Linked DNA regions of Homo sapiens: all the other regions are linked to region 1. The links are contacts of gene promoters, found by promoter capture Hi-C in blood cells and fetal thymus (Javierre and others, 2016). All regions are on one chromosome and are shown on one strand. Each heading gives the region's core, a stretch centred on a gene start or on the middle of the fragment in contact. The rest is flanking DNA. Distances are from core to core; before and after follow the strand shown.

Region 1 (2,700 bases), core at 132-2,631:
TTCCCACTGGAAACCACCGAACGGGGAAGCCTGCCGTTCATTCCCAAGCCCACGGCTCCTCTAGAAACGCACACAATGCGTGCTTTCAAAAAGGCATTCGTCTGCTTTTAAGGGAATTCCTATCTTTTCAGAGTCCCAAAACCAGAGAGCACAAGAAAGAGACTCAAATCCATTGATTAAGATTTTTAAGAAAAAGACTAACACACAGGCACAACACAAGCACACACCAACCTTCGCCGGCTGGACCACTTCTTGCCTGTTCTTCTTTCTATTAACGACACGTTAGATTCTGATACATTCCCCCCCCAAAAAAATCCAACTAGGTTACAATGTAGCTCTCTAGCTCCACTTAACCTGCAAGTTACAAAGAGAGAAAAAAAAAATCCTGCCTTCCCACCCCTTTCCTTACCCCCTCCCCCTCCCGAGTCCACTCCACCAACGCCAAACCCGCCAGCCCCGCCAGCCGGCTGCAGGACCGAGGGAGGGTGCAAAAGGCGGGGGGCGGAGGGGGGGTAGATCAGATTAGGCGAAACTCAATAAGCTCCCAGCCCTCCAGCCCAAAGCTTCCACCATCGCCGCCACCAACGAGCCACTCCAATTGAGCCAGCATCGCCGCCCACCCGCCGGCCCGCCGGAATCGCGCCCATCTCCTGCAACCTCGCCCGGACCGGCATCCCGCCCCCTCGGCCCGGTCTCCCCCTTCCCGCCGGGTGCAAAGTCAAAGACCCAGCAAGGCGACGTGAACTTTTGCATGCAGGGCACACACGTCGCCCCCGGTTCCGGGAGTGCGGGGGCCCGCGGCGCGGAGGGAGGCTGGGCGCCCGGGCTCCCGGGCCAAGGTCGCCGCGCGTGCTCACCCATGTCCCGGCGGCTCCGGCTCCGCTGGCCCCGGCGCTCGCTCAGATCCCGGCTCCCGTCGCTCGCCCGAGCCCCCAAAGGTGCTGCTGCGGCAACTCCATGGCGATGAGCATCTGTCAAACGGCGAGCCGCGAGCTGGCCGCCCTAGCTCGGGGGGCGCCGGGGCCCCCGGGCGCGCGGAGGCGGCGGCGAGCGGCGGGCGCCCCGGCCGGCCCCGCGCTTCCCGCCCGACTCTGCCGCCTCCGCCGCGCCACCGATTTATGGAGAGAGATATCAAGGGGGAAAATGGCGTCTCCGGAGCCCGAGGAGTCCTGGAGTAATCACATTCACACACACACGCCCGCACGCACACACACTCGCACACACTGGCACACAGGCGCGCGGCGAGCCCTGCTAATTTTAGCAGGAGCCAAAAAAAATTTTATATATATATATATATATATATATATATATATATCCCCGTCTCTCCGATCAATGCTTTTTCTTTTTTTGCTTTTTTTTTTTTTTTTTTTTTTTTTTTTGCTTTTCTTCAAAGGATGGGTTGGAGCGTTAAAAAATGTTGGTGGGTTTGGGCTCGCAGGAGGCGGCGCGCGGAGGGCGAGGGCGCTTTTGCTGAGCTGTGCAGTTCGGTCCGCTGAGCCCGGCGGCCCTGCCCGCCCGCTCGTCCGCCCGCGGTCGCTAGTGTTGCCGCCGCCGCCGCCGCCGCCGCCGCTGCTGCTCCATGGCCGCGCCCGCCCCGCGCCCCCGCCGCGTCCCGTCGCCGCCCGCCCGCGTCCCCGGTGAGCGCTGGAGTGGGGTCGGGCCCGTGTGCCTGCCTCCCGCGCCCTCTCCGAATCCCGGACTCCTAGTGAAAGGAAGGGGGAGGGCGCGGGCGCGGAAGGGAGGTGGATCGGAGCGGCAGCGCGGCCCAGCCGAACGGGTACCGACCGTCACCCCGCGATCTTCCTCGCAGGGGGCGCCGGCGCCCAAGCTGCTCGCCCGGAGGGCCCAGAGCCGCTTCCCAGACCAGAGCCGGGGGAGGCGCAGCCAGTAGCGAGCCCTGAGCGACCTCTCTCCCCACTCGCCCCCCTGCCCCAGTGAATTTCTGTCAGTTGAAGGGAGCGGGGCTCTTGCCCGGGGAAAAGGAAAACAGTTCGTGGCCTGGGATCTGGGACCCCTTGCCGCCCCCAGCGCCCCTCCCGCTCCCCGGCGCCCTTGCGGCCCAGTGGCTCCTGCGCGCCGGAGTCCGCCGCGAAGACTGAGCGGCCGCGGGGATCGCCGCGGGCTCCGCGCGTATTCCTGGGCTCAACACTGCCACTATCTGACACAACAGGAGCAGTGTCGGGGGGGTACTGCGCGCCCAGACGTGAGCTGTGATAGGCTCTCGAAACTGGGCGCATTTTTTTTTTAACCTGGTAATTATATTTCACTTTCAGGGTTTTTTTAAATTATTATTATTATTTTATTGTTGTTGTTAAGCGACTTGTATGCATTCAGATCTCATGTGCATTTTCTCGTTATTCAAGAGAATTGGACACTTGATGAAGGGAAGGACACGGAGAGATGACAAACGCAGACTGGCATGCAGTTGTTTTCAGGGTGGGAAGAACAAAGTGGAATGTCTTCAGTTCTTACAAAATATGGTGGCATTTGTAATCTCTGAGTTTTTGTATTTGGCCTACAAAGGGGGTCTTTTCAGGGAAACACGAATGGAACCCTTCAGAGACATGTCTACATTGTAAAACAATATAGGATAGATACGGATTCGGGAAGGTCTGCAAATGGTTCCGCTCAAAGAACTTGGGGTAAAGTTGACCGAGGACTCGGATTCTGAGAGGACTCCTATCACGTTCTTCATGAGAG
Region 2 (2,700 bases), core at 185-2,684, 480 kb before region 1:
GCTGCCTGGTCTTCTTAATTCTAGAAATGACTTTGATGTGCCTGCAGTTCTCTTCCACTCCAGCTTTAGCATTCTGCCCTGCCTATATTCTCTCTGCTGAAATTTTTCTCTCCTCTTCACTGTGATGAAGTCAGGGACAGACTTCCTAATTGTCCTAATTTGGAACAGAGCTCAGGCCATAAAGCATCCTCCCTGAAGCCATTGATGGAGCAAGCATCTTCATCTCATCACATCCAATATTATGAGCTAAATAACAATAGAATCATAAGATTTCCTCAAGCCACATGTTAGTGTTAATAATGGCTTCCATAAATATATTTTGTTAAGACATTTCAGCATTTTCTAATTATTTTCACACATATTTCATTGCTTAAAGATACTAAACTAGTCAGGACCCATATTCTCATTTTGCAAATAAGAAAATGAAGTCTCAGAGAGGTGCACTATGTGTTTAAGTTCAAAACTGGTGTCAGAAACACAAGAATTATTGTCTTCTAAAACTTTGTTCATGATGCTTCTTGCCAGATGTGCTTATGGAAAACTATTGTGTGCAATGACTTCTGGCAAATCAAATCAGTTGGCCCAGGGGAAACAGGCTATTTAAAGGAGTCCCACTGTGAATCATTTTGTGAAGTAAATATTCTCTAATGCATCCATTTTACAAATCTGGATTTTCAAACAATGTGTATCTGCTGAAAGTGGGGTACCTGTGAGCCTCCACGTTTCAGACATTAAATCATCCTTCACGTTCCTCCTGATTAGAGGTGGCTGTAGGCTGGCTGAGTCTGTGACTTGTATAAACGGCAGCAGCAGAGGGGCAGATAGAGCCTCCGACAGACACTTGAGCAAGTCTAGTTCCTGGATTTGGCTTTTAAATCAGCTGCTTTCTATTATCTGCCAGTAAATGATTCCTCCCAGGTCTGAAGAGCTGAAGACCTTGGCCCAGGTCAGCACATAGCTTCTGTTCACTACCTCTTGGCTTGACCCTGTCTCACCTTCCTCTGTCTCCTGAACTCCTGGTGCCACCACTCCCAATTCCAATGGGGGATTTTGCTATAAATACGAACCCTTGATCATACTTTCCCCTTCTATGTTTTTGTCTAACCCTTTCCCCCAACCTTGTTTCTTCTGATCCCGCTAGTTGCAGGGTCCTCAGCTCAAATAGATTCTCAGCCCTGGATGTATATTAAACTAATCTGGGGAGCTTTCACAATTTTTCCAACACTGGGGCTCCATGATCAAAATTCCAACTTAATTGGTCTGTTATGGGGCTTGAATGCAATGTTTTCTGTTGTTTGATTTTTATGCTATGTAGGTGAATTGAACATACAACAAAATGGAAGACTTATGATATACTTGATGGCCTGACCTTGACCCTGACTCCTGATTATCAAATGATCCTTGCATTGGGTTGAATTGTGTCTCCCAAACTTCATATGCTGAAGGTCTAACCCCTTCAGAATGTGACCTTATTTGGAGATAAGGTCTTCACAGAGATCATCAAATTAAAATGAAGTCATTAGGGTAGGCCTTAATCTAGTATGACTGGCACTCTTAAAAACAGGGGAAATTTGGAGGCAGACCCATATGCAGTGAGAATGCCACGTGAACATGAAGAAAGCCATCTATAAGCCAAGGGGAGGAGCCTGCAACAGATCCCTCCCTCACAGCCCTCAGAAAGAACTAACTTTGCCTATACCTTGATTTTAGAGCTGTGGCCTCCAGAACTCTGAGACAACAATTTTCTGTTGTTTAAGCCAGCCAGTTTGTGATACTCTTTTACAGGAGCCCTAGCAAACAAACATTTCCCTTAAGACCTCATTGCAGTTGCCCTGATCCTGTAGCACAGCTGGAGTGACCAATTTGTTTCAGTTTGCCTAGGACATTCCTGGTTTTAGCAATGAACGTTCTAGGTAACAGGAACCTGTTTATTTCTAGAGAAACCAGGACAGTTGATTACCCTAAACAAAGCATAATGATTATGTGTGTAGGTTGCAGGACCTGACAATCTGGGTTTAAAATCCATCTCTGCTCATTCTTGGCTATGTTGCTTTCAGCCTCAGCTCCTATAGCTGCAAAACGACCTATCTTGTAGTGACATTGTGTGGATAACATGGACCAATGTGTGTAAAACTCACAGAATATTTCCTGGTACAGCATGAGTACTCAATAATATTTAGTAAGTTAATATTTTTATACAATTAAAATCAGAAAACAGTCATACAAATATATTTCCTTTTGTGATAGTAAGATAGTTAAATGGCCTTGCTTTAAGAGCTGAATGTAGTCAAAGTTACATGACTTCCATTCACTCATTCCAATCCTGGTTTTTCTTCATGTATGACTGTAGTATGGTCTTGGCATTTCTCAGTACTTCTGCTCTTTCTTACATGATGCATATTTACCACAAGGCTGGCTCTAGAAATCAAAACAAACAGAAAAAGGAATTGTCTTAACCATTTGGTATGTCTATTTCCCATCTCCTTGCAATACCATGAGGGAAACCACCCATGGGCAACAGGTAACAGGCATGACCTGGTCTGACAGTGAAACTTCTAACCCGTCAGAACCAAAAACGTTCACTCCGGAAAGAAGGCAGGCTTGCGAATGAGGAAGTGTCAGTTCTCTGAGGACAGATAGAGGTCAGGAAGAGAATTAATAGAGGGATGTTACTGAGGTAGAATTGGTCAGGAAGCAAAG
Region 3 (2,700 bases), core at 161-2,660, 460 kb before region 1:
AATCAGACTGAGATATGCCCCATATGCTTCAACTACCTGATAAGAAATTTAAAGTAACTGTAATTAATAGACTAAAGGCTTTAGTAGAAAAGGCAGGGATGTATGAACATATAGAAAAATTTTAGAGAACAGAAATAAAGATGGAAATTACATGATCGAATCAAATGAATATGCCAAAAATAAAAGAGAAACAAAATATACAAAAATGTCTTTGATGAACTCATAAAAAGAGTAACAGAGAATAGAAAAACAATCAGTGAACTTGAAGGTAGGTCAACAAAAAGTACCCAAACTAAAACAGAAAGAAATAAGAATAGAAAAAGGAAGCAAGCAAAAAAAACAAAAAACAAACAAAACAAAACAAAACAAAAAAAAAACAAGCAAGCAAGAAAAAGAAAAGAAAAGAAAAGAAAAGAAACAGAAGCATATCCAAGAACTGTGGGACAATGTCAAACAGTCTACTGTATTTACAATTGAAATTTCAAAAAAAAATAGGAAGAGAAAGGAGAAAAAAATGTGAAAGTTATAATGACCAAAAATTTTTCAAAATTAATGAAAACATCCAACTCACAACTGCAAGAAGTACAGAGAACATCAATCAAGATATTTATCTATATCCCCCAAAATACACCTAAACAAATCATATTTGGACTGTTGAAAATCAAAGATAAAGAGAAAACTCTAGAAGGAGCTGGGGGAAAGTTGGTGGGAGATACATTACATATACTGAAAGAGAGATAAGAATTACAGAAGACTACTCATCAGAAAGTATGCAAGCTGCAAGAGAATGGAGAATAATTTCAAACTGCTAAATTTTTAAGACATCAATAGAGAGTTCTCTACCAAGTGAAAATATCTTTTAAAAATAAAACTAAAATAAAGCTAAAATAAATTTCTTATACAAGCAAAAATTGATAAAATTCACTACCACCAACACTGCAAGAAATGTTAAAAGAAGTTTTTTTGGCAGATGGAATATAATACCAGAGAATAAACTGAATATACAAAAAGAAATAAAAAGCAATGGAAATGACATAGGGTAAGTATAAAATTTATTTTATTCTAATTTTTATTACTGTGGATATAATTTTCTAAGGCAAAATAGTAACAATGTATTTTGTGTTTATTGCATGTAGTAACAGCATAATGTATAATAACTATAGCATAAAAGACAGATGGAAAAAAGTGGGAGTATGGTGTCATAATGTGCTTACACTACACATGAAATGGCATACTATCATTTGAAGGCAGTCTGTGACTAATTAAAGTTGTGTACTATAAATCCTGGGGCAACTACTGAAAAGAAAATTTTAAAAGAGATATAAATAATGAGCCAATAGTAAAGATAAAATGGTATACAACAGAAACATAAACAAATGAAACAGCATAGAGAACCCAGAAATTAATCTATTATGTACAGCCAACTCATTTTTGACAAAGGCACCAAGAACATACATTGGGGAAAGAGTAATCTCTTCAGTAAATGGTGCTGGAAAACTGGATATTCATGTACAGAAGAATAAAACTAGACCCCCCACTTCTCATCCTACAAAAAATCAACTCAAAATGAATCAAAGACTTTAGTAAGACCTGAAACTGTAAAACTACTAGAAGAAAACATATAGAAAGCACTTTGGGGCATTGGTCTGAGAAAATATTTTATGAATAAGGCCTCAAAAGCACAGGCAACAAAAGCAAAAGTGAACAAATGGATTATATGAATCTAAAAAGCGTCTACATAGCAAAGGAAGCAATCAATACAGTTAAAAGACAACCTACAAAATGGGGGAAATATTTGCAAAGTATACATCTGACAGGGAATTAATATCTAGAATATACAAGGAACTCAAGTATCTCAACAGCAAAAAAAAAAAAAAAAAGGGCAAATGATCTGAATGGACATTCCTCAGAAGGAGATATACAAATGGCCAACAAATATATTTTTAAAATGCTTAGTGTCACTAATCATCAGGGAAATGCAAATCGAAACCACAGTGAGGTGTCATCTCACCCCAGTTGGCCCGGCTATCATCAAAAAGACAAGAAAGAACAGATGCTCGTGAGGTGTGGAGAAAAGTGAACTCTTACACACTGTTGATAGAAACGTAAACTAGTACAGCCACTATGAAGAACCATATGGATGTTCCTCAAAAAACTGCAAATAGAACTACCATATAATTCAGATACTGAGCATTTATCTAAAGAAAAGGAAATCAGTATCTTGAAGAGACCTCTGCGCAGACCCGCATGTTTATCACAGCACTATTCACAATAGCCAAGATATGGAATCAACTAGGTGTCCAACAACAGATGATTGAATAAAGAAAATATGGTATACACAATGGGATACTATTCAGCCATAAAAAAGTGAAATCTTTTAATTCAAAGCAACATGGATGGGACTGGAGGACATCATGTTAAGTGAAATAAGCCAGGAACAGAAAGTTGAACATCACATATTCTCACTCATATGTGGAAGCAAAAAAAATTTGACCTTTCATCAGTAAAAAGTAGAACAGAAGATATTAGAGGTTGAAAACGGTGGGGGAAACGGGAATAAAGAGATACTTGCTAAAGGATTCAAAATTACAACATAATAAGGGGAATAAGTTCTAGTGTTGTATAGCACTGTAGAATGCCTATAGTTAACCATAATATATAGTTTCAAAGAGCTAGAAGGAGGATATCCAGGGCTGGGTA
Region 4 (2,700 bases), core at 184-2,683, 400 kb before region 1:
TTCTCGCACCTTAGCCTCCCATGTAGCTGGGATTACAGGCACCCGCCACCACACCCGGCTAATTTCTGTGTTTTTAATAGAGATGAGGTTTCACCATGTTGGCCAGGCTGGTCTCGAACTCCTGGCCTCAAGTGATCTGCCCGCCTCAGCCTCCCAAGGTGCTAGGATTACAGGCGTGAGCCACCATGTCCGCTCCTGTGCATAAACCTTAACCACATATTTGCTTGTATTTTCATCCCCCACCCCACCCACTTCCCTGCATTTTTGGCACATGCCAGGGAATGCCTCACCTTTGCAAAGGTTCTCAAGCTCAGTGAGACAGAACAGTCACACCACACGTGAAGCAAAACAAATTTTTCACTCACAGATAAGAACAAATAGAAGCCTAGGATCCCTGGGGAGCCAGACTCCAGGCTCTGGCAAGTTGCCCCAGGCGAATGGAGTTCTGTCTGCACATGCTGTATGTTTCACTGCAGCTGAGGGCCCCAGAAAGCACTCTGCTCTTGGGTTTTATACCCCGGGTGTCTCTTGGTTTGCTGAGCCCAAGTGTTGCAGAGCATCCTGTTTTACGAGGGATGAGGGCAGAGACTGTGTTGCCCTGGACACTTCCTCTTTATTTCAGGATGTCACATTCTTAGAACGTTCTACAGTTATTCTGAGAAATAAGAGCTGGAGGAAGGAGAGCTGGATTGGCCAGGGCCATCTGTAGACCTGTCTGCCTACATTCTTTACTTTTTCAGGCAGTCCATATCTACTCTTTAAGGTCAAACTCAGTTCCTATCTACATCTAGATATATTATTTTTCTCTCCTTAACTCTGCCAATGTGGGTAGTCTGGCCCATTTATTTTGTGTGGCATATCTACAATTAAACTTGGAAAGACCCTTAACTTGTGATCAGAGATGGGCTCTAGGCCGTCTTAACATCTACCAGCATGTAGCACATGGTCAAGCCTTGAGAATATGCTTAATAGTCAAATCCTCATGTCATTTAAAATGACATAAGAGAAGTTAGGAACCATAGAAAGGATGGAAAGAGAAGGTTCAAATAAAAGTGGGTGAGGGAAACAGAGCCAAGAAATCCTAGAAAGCAAACCAACATTTTTCACACCACAGGGAAACGACAGAAGATGGAGTGCTGCAAAATTAGAAAAACTATCTTGGACACTGTCTCTTTCTAAAAGTTTAGGAAAACTAATTTCAAATAAAAATTAGAAACAGAAAAGTATCAACTTCTAAATCCTATAAAAGTTATTAAAAGGAAAAGACAAAGGGCTAATATCCAGAATCTACAATGAACTCAAACAAATTTACAAGAAAAAAACAAACAACCCCATCAAAAAGTGGGCGAAGGACATGAACAGACACTTCTCAAAAGAAGACATTTATGCAGCCAAAAAACACATGAAGAAATGCTCATCATCACTGGCCATCAGAGAAATGCAAATCAAAACCACTATGAGATATCATCTCACACCAGTTAGAATGGCAATCATTAAAAAGTCAGGAAACAACAGGTGCTGGAGAGGATGTGGAGAAATAGGAACACTTTTACACTGTTGGTGGGACTGTAAACTAGTTCAACCATTGTGGAAGTCAGTGTGGCGATTCCTCAGGGATCTAGAACTAGAAATACCATTTGACCCAGCCATCCCATTAATGGGTATATACCCAAATGAGTATAAATCATGCTGCTATAAAGACACATGCACACGTATGTTTATTGCGGCACTATTCACAATAGCAAAGACTTGGAACCAACCCAAATGTCCAACAATGATAGACTGGATTAAGAAAATGTGGCACATATACACCATGGAATACTATGCAGCCATAAAAAATGATGAGTTCATGTCCTTTGTAGGGACATGGATGAAATTGGAAACCATCATTCTCAGTAAACTATCGCAAGAACAAAAAACCAAACACCGCATATTCTCACTCATAGGTGGGAATTGAACAATGAGATCACATGGACACAGGAAGGGGAATATCACACTCTGGGGACTGTGGTGGGGTCGGGGGAGGGGGGAGGGATAGCATTGGGAGATATACCTAATGCTAGATGACACGTTAGTGGGTGCAGCGCACCAGCATGGCACATGTATACATATGTAACTAACCTGCACAATGTGCACATGTACCCTAAAACTTAGAGTATAATAAAAAAAAAAATTAAAAATAAAAAAAAAAAAGAAAAGAGAAAAAGAGACAGAATTAAAAACATATCAATAACTTATGCCCACAAATCAAAATTCTAATTCACTGTTTCAAAATGAGGCAAAAGATATATGAAAATAATAAGAGACATGAAATAATAGCATAATTTATAATTAGGAAAACTCAGAAATAAAGTGACAGAAGACAGGAGAAATTGAAAATGCAGTTGGCCCTTGAACAACATCGGGGTTGGGGTGCCGAGAGCCTCACGGTCAAAAATCTGTGTATAACTTTTGACTCCCCCTTCAACTTAACTAGTAATAGCCTACTGTTGACTGGAAGCCTTACCAATAATATAAACAATTAACACGTATTTTGTATGTCATACGTATTATATACTGTATTCTTATGATAAAGTTAGAGAAAAAATATTACTAAGAAAATTGTAGGGAAGAAAAAATCTATTTACTATTCACTGAGTGGAAGTGAATCATCATAAAGTCCTTTATCTTCATCATCTTCACGTTGAGGATCCTAAGGAG
Region 5 (2,700 bases), core at 8-2,507, 440 kb before region 1:
ATGAGGGAAAAGAAAAGTTGCCTGCGTCACAATGGGTATTCTAAATAAAATCCCTTATCCTAGTAGACTTACCAGAATCTGAATCATTTGATAGAGCTGATCACTCTCATCATCCTTCTGACCTTTAAGTGTCAGAGAGTCCCAGGGCTTAGTTTTTGGTCATCTTCCTCATCTATTTTATCTGGTGAATTTATTCAGTCTCAGGGCTGAAATACTAGCTATATGCTGGTGATGGCCAAATTTATATCTCTACCTTTGACCTTTTTCTGATACCCAGATGCATGGCTATAATGTCCTTCTCCACACCCCTACTTGGAGATCTGAAAGGTAACTCAAGCTTTACATGTTTGAAACAGGACTCTTGATTTGAAGCCTTACACCAAAGCCCTCATGCTCTCACTCTATTTCCTATAACACAAATGGCATCTTCATTCTACCAGCTACTTGCTCAAAGAAAAAACTTTAAGTCTCCTTAATATGAGTCATCTTTAACATCTGTCTCTCTCTGATGCCACACATATAATTCATCAGCACTGTTTGTCAGCTCAACCTTGGAAATGCATTTAGATTCCAGAACATGTCTCCCCATTTCCATTGCTGTGCCCTTAATCTGAAGCCATCCATTCTCTCCCAAGTTATTTAAATTGTCTCCCAACTGGTCGCTCTGCTTCCAGCCTTGCCTTCACAGTGTTCTCCACAGTACAGCAGAGTGAGCCTTGTAAAACCTAGTCAGATCGTGGCACTCTTCCACTCAAAACCCTGCAATGGTTTCCATCTCACTCAGAATAAAAGCCCAAACACCTACCTTCCTGTAAGATGCTATAATACTTGTCCCTGCCACTGCCCTGATCTCATTTCCCCCCTTTCCTTATTGTGCTCTCCACACACTTTGTGCTCTTAGTTGTCCCTCAAACATACAAAGTATGTCTAAAATAGCACCTTTCCTATTCCTCACTATATATCCTTTTCCTACTCCATTTTCAGATTTCTTAAGCTTAGCTCACGTATTATCTATTTATTATCTGTCACTACTGGAATATTGGAATATAAGTCCTATGAAAGCCAGGATTATCTATTTTGTGTGCAGCTATATCCCCAGTGCAACAGTCCTTCATGCTCAACAGATATCTGTTGAACAATGAAGTAAATATGTAAATGATGAATAAATGCACATGTACTCACAAGTAAACATGCAAATAAATAAGCCTCCTGTCATGCTCATCTATGGAATCTCCACATTTGCCCAAGTAGAGTTCTGAAGGTTGCCGCACCAGAGCCTTAATTCTGCTGACATATAAATAACTACACAGATTTTTGTTTCTTTTTTCCAGAAAAGAGTGCAAGAGTTAGCACATTTCCCATCACCACTCCCTGCGTACCTTCTTATAACTTACTACCTGTGACTTTTCCACTTGGAATCATTACATGGAAAGGGTCATTAGAGACTATCTAGTTCAAATAATCATTTCAGAAGCAAGGAAACTGAGGCTCAAGTTCGTGAAATGACTTGCTCAAGCTTACAGAGCTGGTTAAGAGCAGAACTATAATTTGATTTCAGGTCTCTAAATTTTTATGCCTTTTTTTTTTTTAAATCACCACAAGGATAAGGAATCAGTCTCTTTCTCTCTCTTTCCCCTTCTTTTTCTCTATCTCTCTCATATGTTGTCCTTGCTACCACTGTTGGTGATCAAAATTCAATAACAACAGTCTTTAAAGAGAGAGCCAGATTTGCAAGTGCTTTTGGAGCTCAATGATGACTTTCTCTGAGTGGGAGAGGCTGGTTATAGGGTCCCCCTCACTTTCACAGAACAGAAGAGGCAGGGACTCATCTGTGGGCATTGGCAGGGCTGGTGCTTACTGACAATCCCTGAGAATGGAAATATCCTGCTTGTCCTTTTAACAGGATTTCAGCCAGAGATTTGAGGGAAAAGTACCGCAGTCTAGTGGGCTGTGAATATGAGTGGAAATGTCAGAGCTATGAATCAGTTAACACATTTTTATTTAGCATCTTCCTGTGAAAGAGGATGAAAAGACATGGCTCCTGTGCTCAAATTCCTTATCACTTCAGGGTACAGTCCAGAATAGTACAAGATCTGGTTAGATCTTAGAGGTCCTAGCACTTCAGACATAAGAGGCATGACTTGGGTGGTAAGAATGGGGGTGGTTTGGGCTGGTGTGGTGGCTCATGCCTATAATCCCAGCACTTTGAGAGGCCGAGTTGGGTGGGTCACCTGAGGTCAGGAGTTCAAAACCAGCCTGGCCAACGTGGTGAAACCCCATCTCTACTAAAAATACAAAAAATTATCTGGGCATGGTGGTGTGGGCCTGTAAACCCAGCTACTAGGGGGCTGGGCTGGAGGATTGCTTGAACCTGGGAGGTAGAGGTTGCAGTGAGCCGAGATCGTGCCATTGAACTCCAGCCTGGGCAACAGAGCAAGACTCCATCTCAAAAAAAAAAAAAAAAAAAAAAAAAAAAAAAAAAAAAAAAAAAAAGAAAGAAAGAATGAGGGTAGTTTTCATGGAAAACACAAAAACACAATGCTTAATCTTGTCATGGAATGGCTGTGATTTAAGTAGGTGAAGCGTATTGTGGTGCATTACTTGCTCCTGTTCTCTCTGGACTCAAGCAGTACATTCATATATTCTTCAGCTTATGGGATCCTCCAATCCTCCCTGGAAGGCAGAAAAACCAAAGAGCAT
Region 6 (2,700 bases), core at 48-2,547, 500 kb before region 1:
ACCTGTGGTAATTTTAGTTAACTTACTACATGTATTTGCTTTTTTCATTGCTAAATTTGAGTTTTCTAACATCATTAACCCTATTATATCAGATAAACACAATAGCAGTGTGACTATAGTAAGATAATGACAGAAACAAAAGTAGAGATCATTTTTAAGCAGTTTTAAAAAATAGAACATTACTAATGATTGCAAGCACTCAGAAACTTGTAAATATTGCACACATGTGTAGAATGAATAGTTCCACAGTCAGAAATGACCCTGATGGCTGGGCATGGTGGCTCATGCCTGTAATCTCAGCACTTTGGGAGCCCGAGATTGGAGGATTGCTTGAGGGCAGGAGTTTGAGACTAGCCTGGGCAACATATGAGACTCCATGTCTCACAAAAAAAAAAAAAAAAAAAAAAAAAAAATTAGAAAATTAGCCAGGTGAGGTGGTGCTGCCTACAGTTCCAGCTTGTTGGGAGGCTGAGAGGTGGATAGCTTGGCCCAGGAGTTGGATGCTGCAGTGAGCTATGATCACACCACTGCACTCCATCCAGCCTGAGCCACAGAGCAAGGCCCTGTCTTGAAAGAAAGAAAAGAAAGAAAGAGAGAAAGAAAAGAAAGAGAGAAGGAGAGACAGAGAGAAAGAGAGAAAGAAAGAAAGACAGAAAAAAAGAAAAAGAAAGAAAAGGAAAAGAAAGGAAAGAAAAGGCTCAGATGGACAAAAGCAAATTGTGCAACCTAGGAAAGTGTCAGACTCCTCTGCAATAAACAATAATCTACACTAACAAAGCTAATGGGAAATATTTTGGATGTGGGCTAAAGAAACATGATCAACATCAGTGGCTTGTTTGGTAAATGTTCTGAGAGGATAGGAGTTTGAGAAAATAAAAGCTTTATATGGTGCGAGTAGGCTGCTGATCCATCCCACTTCAAGGCTCATTCAAATCAGCACATCAAAGTGTGCAGCAAGATAAAAGGTGAGGTTAACTGCTGAGGGTCTCCAAGCACATACAGAGATGTTCAAGGAGGGAGCGGCCTACCCCAAGAGGTGTTATCAGCCTTCACGGAACTGACATGGTTTCCTAAAGGATAAGCCATTGCAGGAGGATCAGCAAGAAGCTGAAGGGTGTGCCTGGGTTTAAAGCACTGAAAGACGACCTCTCAATCTGGTTCAGTGGGAATGCACTGGGGGAAGCCAGCGCAAACAGTACCCTCATCATCACTTGGGCTTATGAACAGATGGACCCAGGAACTACATTTCCAAATCTAACTGTTCATAATTCTAATCTATACCAGTCTCTGTTTTTGGCCATTTATACTGTTCTAGTCACCAATCTGTCAAGTCTAGCACCAATACGGTACTGTTTTAATTATTCCCTCATGATTTTTATTTAAAAAAAATTTCTTGGCAATCTGTAGCCTTTATTCTTCCAGATAAATTCTAGAATCACTTCAGATTGAATTAACCTATAAATTACAATCAGAAGAACTGTCATATTTATATGAATTTTCCTATGTACAAATGTAGCATATTTCTCATGTATTAAGTCATATTTCATGCTTTTCAGACAACTGTGTGATTTTTCTTAATGAAACTATAGCACATTTTATACTCTTCTACTTTATATATTTTTTGTTGTTGCTTTATATATTTTTGTATTTATTTTTTAAAAGGACTTGTTTTTTATAATAGTTTCTGTTTCTTTGTGAAACATAGGAAAGCTTCTGATGTCTATGTATCTTTTCTGTATTATAAAATACTCTCGTTGGCCTTAGGAGTTTTAAAGTCAATTTTTTTACTAATTACTTTTTATATTTTTCTATGCTCTGGTAAAACATGAGAATTATTTATCTTTTCAAAGTTTGAAATAACACATTTTTCAAATCAGTTACAGTCTTTAACAATTTTTTTCAGTTATTTTTTCCTTTTAAATCAATGTTGAAAGGTCTTTTTCAAGAAAACGATCCATTTCTTTGAATTTATCACTATAGCATTTTATACAGTATTGTGTTACTTTAAAAGTACTGTGTCTCTTATCCTATCTTTTTTTCCTGATTCAATTTTCCTAAGGTCATTTATTGTGATTATTTTTTCTAACGTACCAAATATTATTTTTAAAAGTCTGTTTATCTAATTTTCCTATTTCATAATTCATTGATTTTTATTTTATACATACTATTTTACTCTCTTTATTTTTTAGATTAGTGTGGTAATCCTCTGAAACTTACTTGGCTGCTTAATTACTTTCATTTCTTATTGCTTAATAAACAAAAACATATAATGGTGTGAATTTGCCAATGATTCTCTTTTGGCCATAAATCATATATTTTGATAAATACTCTCTCGTTTTAGGAACTTTTTAACCAGTTTGTAATTGTACTTTTGATTTCCTCTTAACCCAAGTTTTTAAAGAGAAATGGCACAGGTTAAAAAATAAACTCTTGTTTAATACATATTAATGGAAACTCATTATTATATTCAAATTATCTTAATCTACTTAATAAAGAGTCGCACAGATATATTAAAGTAAACTGTTTTTCTGTAAATTTCTTTTTATATTTCTTATGAGTTTCAAATACATTTTGATGTTATTAATTGGTACATAAATCTGTTTCAGAAGACATCATTTATCAATTACAATGGACCCTTTATCTTATTTTGTGCAATTTCTTTTAATTTTAGTTTATCTGAAATTAATATTGTCATTTTTT
Region 7 (2,700 bases), core at 64-2,563, 420 kb before region 1:
AGGAGGGAACTGGATAGCTGAGGAATAAGAACAAGAGGAAGACTTTCACCATACAGAAGTGCTTTCCAAGCTACCTGTGAGGGAGAAGGACCAATATTTTTCCCCTCATTCATTACAGACCAGTGCATGGTCCTATTACGTATGTTTCTATGCAGATTGCTTTATGTACCACTTACCACATGACTTTGACAATGTTCAAACCCATTTATTCCCTTTTCCTGGGCTAAAGTCCACTGGTTTTACACTTGGACGTAGAGAAAATGTCACATTGCTACAGAAGTTTCTAACTCTTACTTTTTACTCTGAATTTCTGTTGTGTACAACAAGAAATGAATGTGTACAATGTAGTTTAACAAAAAAGGAAGGACCTCACGTGAAAAAAAAGAAAACAGTTCCCAGAAAGGCACTGCCATACATCCTCCTGCACTTTTGACTTTGAATATATGATCTTTCCGGAGGAATTTGCTTTATAAAAAAATTGCCAGGGAAACACCCTTAGCAGAAGTGAGGACAGACTTGAGGATCTTCAATTCCCTTGGATGCTCTCTTGCAGCATCAGCTATCAGCAAAAGTGTGAGACTGTTCAAGTCTGTCTGTGGCTCTTTCACCACCTTCTGTAGTAAACAAGATGCTCCATCCAGTCCTTTCACCTCCTTTCTGGAGGAATCTTATGGTTCCTTCCTCTGTACTCTCTGACACTTAATGTGGAGGCCAACTCACTCTTATGTAGGTATACAGTCCTAATACAAAAATACACTATTTCCCTTTCATGTAAACAGAGAAATTGAAAATATAGTTTTCCAGACTGAAGGAAACAAAGCCTCAGGATTGGATATCAGATTTGAGTATTTTCAGTTGGCCACAACTTACAGCTGGTCAGCTCTCAGGAAGAGTGCATGAAAAATCCTGGGAGTGGGGTCAGGAGACAGGGGTTCTGTAGAACGTTCATGGTAGGTGTGGCAAGAAGTTCACAGGAAGGAGACACTAAAATTGGAGATTAAGGTAAATGAGGCTGGCCATTTCAGGTTCGTGTAATTCATTCAAGTAGTGATTAGAACTAAACTGTGCTAAGTCATCTTAAAGATCCGAATAGTCACCAGTTCAAACGTAACCAGGCTGAATATTTTAACAGGTCTAAAGAGGGAGAACATGTCTATCAGAAGCACAACACTGTGGAGTTCCAGGGTCATCTAAGCCATGACCAAGGGAGATGTGTCCAGACCTGAGGACAGAACCTACCAGGTCCTGGTGGCACAGCTGTTCCTGCTGCAGAGATAGTAGTATCAACCTTGAACTACTGCTCACCAGCACAGAGCTCATCCACCCTGTTCTCACGACATATGGATTAAGCAATCTGTTAATACAGGTTGCACCACCATGTGTCTTTGCCTACGGGAGAGAATGTGTTGGCTCTTCTGTTATATGTCTCATTATAAATTACTAAGCTGGCTCTGTAGTTTATATTCCAGGCTCTTATAAACCTAGATAATGTGAATCTATTCTGGCCATACAGATCTACTTTTGGTCAAGAGGAAAATGAAAGTGAATGAGCATATGAGGCTAAAGAACTGACCATGGGCAGGGGTTATTCCAACATGGCAAAACTACGTGAGGCCTTGTGGCAGTCGGGTGGCTAAAGACTGGGAAGCTGGCCTCACAATGCCTCTCTCTCAAAGTCCTCATGTACTTTTGGTAAAAGCAGAAGCTCTAGACATAATCTTGAGGCTTCTGTACTGGTTTTGATTTGGCATGGCTCAACAATGAATAATTGCAGTATGTCTGACATGCAGTTATACAGTTATAATAGTTGTAATTAATGACCAGGTTAAAAAGGCCCCATGTCAAAATGGCCAAGATAAAAAGCCATATACTTTGTAAAACCTGCTTTAAATTTAAAAAAGTTGAGATAATCCATGTATATGTTTCAAATTTTAACATGTATTTTTAAAGTACTGTGAGAAGTCTCCCACTCTTGCCTTATTTGCCAAGTTTCCACAGTAATCCCTGTGATTAATTTACTGTCCATTCGTGTAAATAGTTTGGCATACTCAATCCAATAAAATATATGTTTTTATATATTTCTTTTTTTACACAAAGTCCCATGCCCTGTGCTGTCTTTTGCATATCGTGATGATCTTTTGTTAGTATATCTTGGGTGATTTTTCCATAGCAATACAAAAACAAAGTTTCTTTCAGGAAGTCATATCATTCTTGTAGTAAACGAGGTAAGAACACAGGATTTGGCATCGGACAAACACAGCTTCAACAGTTACTATTTAAGTGCCTTAAGTGGGTTTTTTAACTCTAGTAAATTTTAAATTTCTAAATCTACAGAACGAGGAGAAAAATACCCTGTTTACAAGGTTTTTATTAGGTCTGAATATATAGGTGGAACCCTTCCCATGTTGTCATGCACAGGGTCATAGGAAAGAAGAGGAAGGAAGCAAGAAGGTGGAAGAAGGAAGAGGATTTCATAGTAGCCTTATTTTCAGGTTCCTGCAAATCAACCAACTGGGCACTGGATAGATGAGTTTCCTCCAGTGAACTTCGGTGTCCTCATTTTTTGTTGTTATTGTTGTTGTTTGTTTGTTTGTTTTTTGAGACAGAGTCTCGCTCTGTCACCCAGGCTGGAGTACAGTGGCACAATCTCGGTTCACTGCAACCTCTGCCTCCTAGGTTCAAGGAATTCTCCTGCCTCAG

The links. Contacts are between HindIII fragments. The CHiCAGO score rates a contact against its expected background, and 5 or more counts as called.
Region 2: a contact is called between a fragment that was not itself captured here and the fragment with the promoter of SETBP1-DT in region 1, in 2 of 17 cell types (naive B cells and monocytes). The highest score is 6.9, in naive B cells.
Region 3: a contact is called between a fragment that was not itself captured here and the fragment with the promoter of SETBP1-DT in region 1, in 2 of 17 cell types (naive B cells and total B cells). The highest score is 6.0, in naive B cells.
Region 4: a contact is called between a fragment that was not itself captured here and the fragment with the promoter of SETBP1-DT in region 1, in 1 of 17 cell types (total B cells). The highest score is 5.1, in total B cells.
Region 5: a contact is called between a fragment that was not itself captured here and the fragment with the promoter of SETBP1-DT in region 1, in 1 of 17 cell types (naive B cells). The highest score is 5.8, in naive B cells.
Region 6: a contact is called between a fragment that was not itself captured here and the fragment with the promoter of SETBP1-DT in region 1, in 4 of 17 cell types (total B cells, naive B cells, monocytes and 1 more). The highest score is 10.3, in total B cells.
Region 7: a contact is called between a fragment that was not itself captured here and the fragment with the promoter of SETBP1-DT in region 1, in 2 of 17 cell types (total B cells and naive B cells). The highest score is 9.8, in total B cells.

The regions. Positions count from the first base shown.
Region 1 is chr18:44,678,553-44,681,252 of GRCh38, reverse strand. It overlaps SETBP1-DT (SETBP1 divergent transcript), which reads left to right and starts at 1,381. Exons shown (of 2, transcript NR_187430.2): 1 at 1,381-1,637; 2 at 2,364-2,700. SETBP1 (SET binding protein 1) reads right to left here and starts at 365. Exons shown (of 6, transcript NM_015559.3): 1 at 232-365. RefSeq lists silencers at 491-540, 681-930, 1,601-2,240. The HindIII fragment of the contact is 7,071 bases long and covers 566-2,700 here.
Region 2 is chr18:45,161,927-45,164,626 of GRCh38, reverse strand. All of the region lies in intron 4 of LOC101927961 (a long non-coding RNA gene), which reads left to right. Among named protein-coding and RNA genes, the nearest start is that of MIR4319, 190 kb to the right of the region's middle. The HindIII fragment of the contact is 9,955 bases long and covers 1-2,700 here.
Region 3 is chr18:45,139,009-45,141,708 of GRCh38, reverse strand. All of the region lies in intron 2 of LOC105372091 (a long non-coding RNA gene), which reads left to right. Among named protein-coding and RNA genes, the nearest start is that of MIR4319, 170 kb to the right of the region's middle. The HindIII fragment of the contact is 6,545 bases long and covers 1-2,700 here.
Region 4 is chr18:45,079,662-45,082,361 of GRCh38, reverse strand. All of the region lies in intron 3 of LOC105372091 (a long non-coding RNA gene), which reads left to right. Among named protein-coding and RNA genes, the nearest start is that of MIR4319, 110 kb to the right of the region's middle. The HindIII fragment of the contact is 4,823 bases long and covers 1-2,700 here.
Region 5 is chr18:45,120,509-45,123,208 of GRCh38, reverse strand. All of the region lies in intron 2 of LOC105372091 (a long non-coding RNA gene), which reads left to right. Among named protein-coding and RNA genes, the nearest start is that of MIR4319, 150 kb to the right of the region's middle. The HindIII fragment of the contact is 522 bases long and covers 997-1,518 here.
Region 6 is chr18:45,181,620-45,184,319 of GRCh38, reverse strand. It overlaps a transcript of SLC14A2 not described here. Among named protein-coding and RNA genes, the nearest start is that of MIR4319, 210 kb to the right of the region's middle. The HindIII fragment of the contact is 831 bases long and covers 882-1,712 here.
Region 7 is chr18:45,099,826-45,102,525 of GRCh38, reverse strand. The region is part of intron 3 of LOC105372091 (a long non-coding RNA gene); the gene reads left to right. Among named protein-coding and RNA genes, the nearest start is that of MIR4319, 130 kb to the right of the region's middle. The HindIII fragment of the contact is 3,343 bases long and covers 1-2,700 here.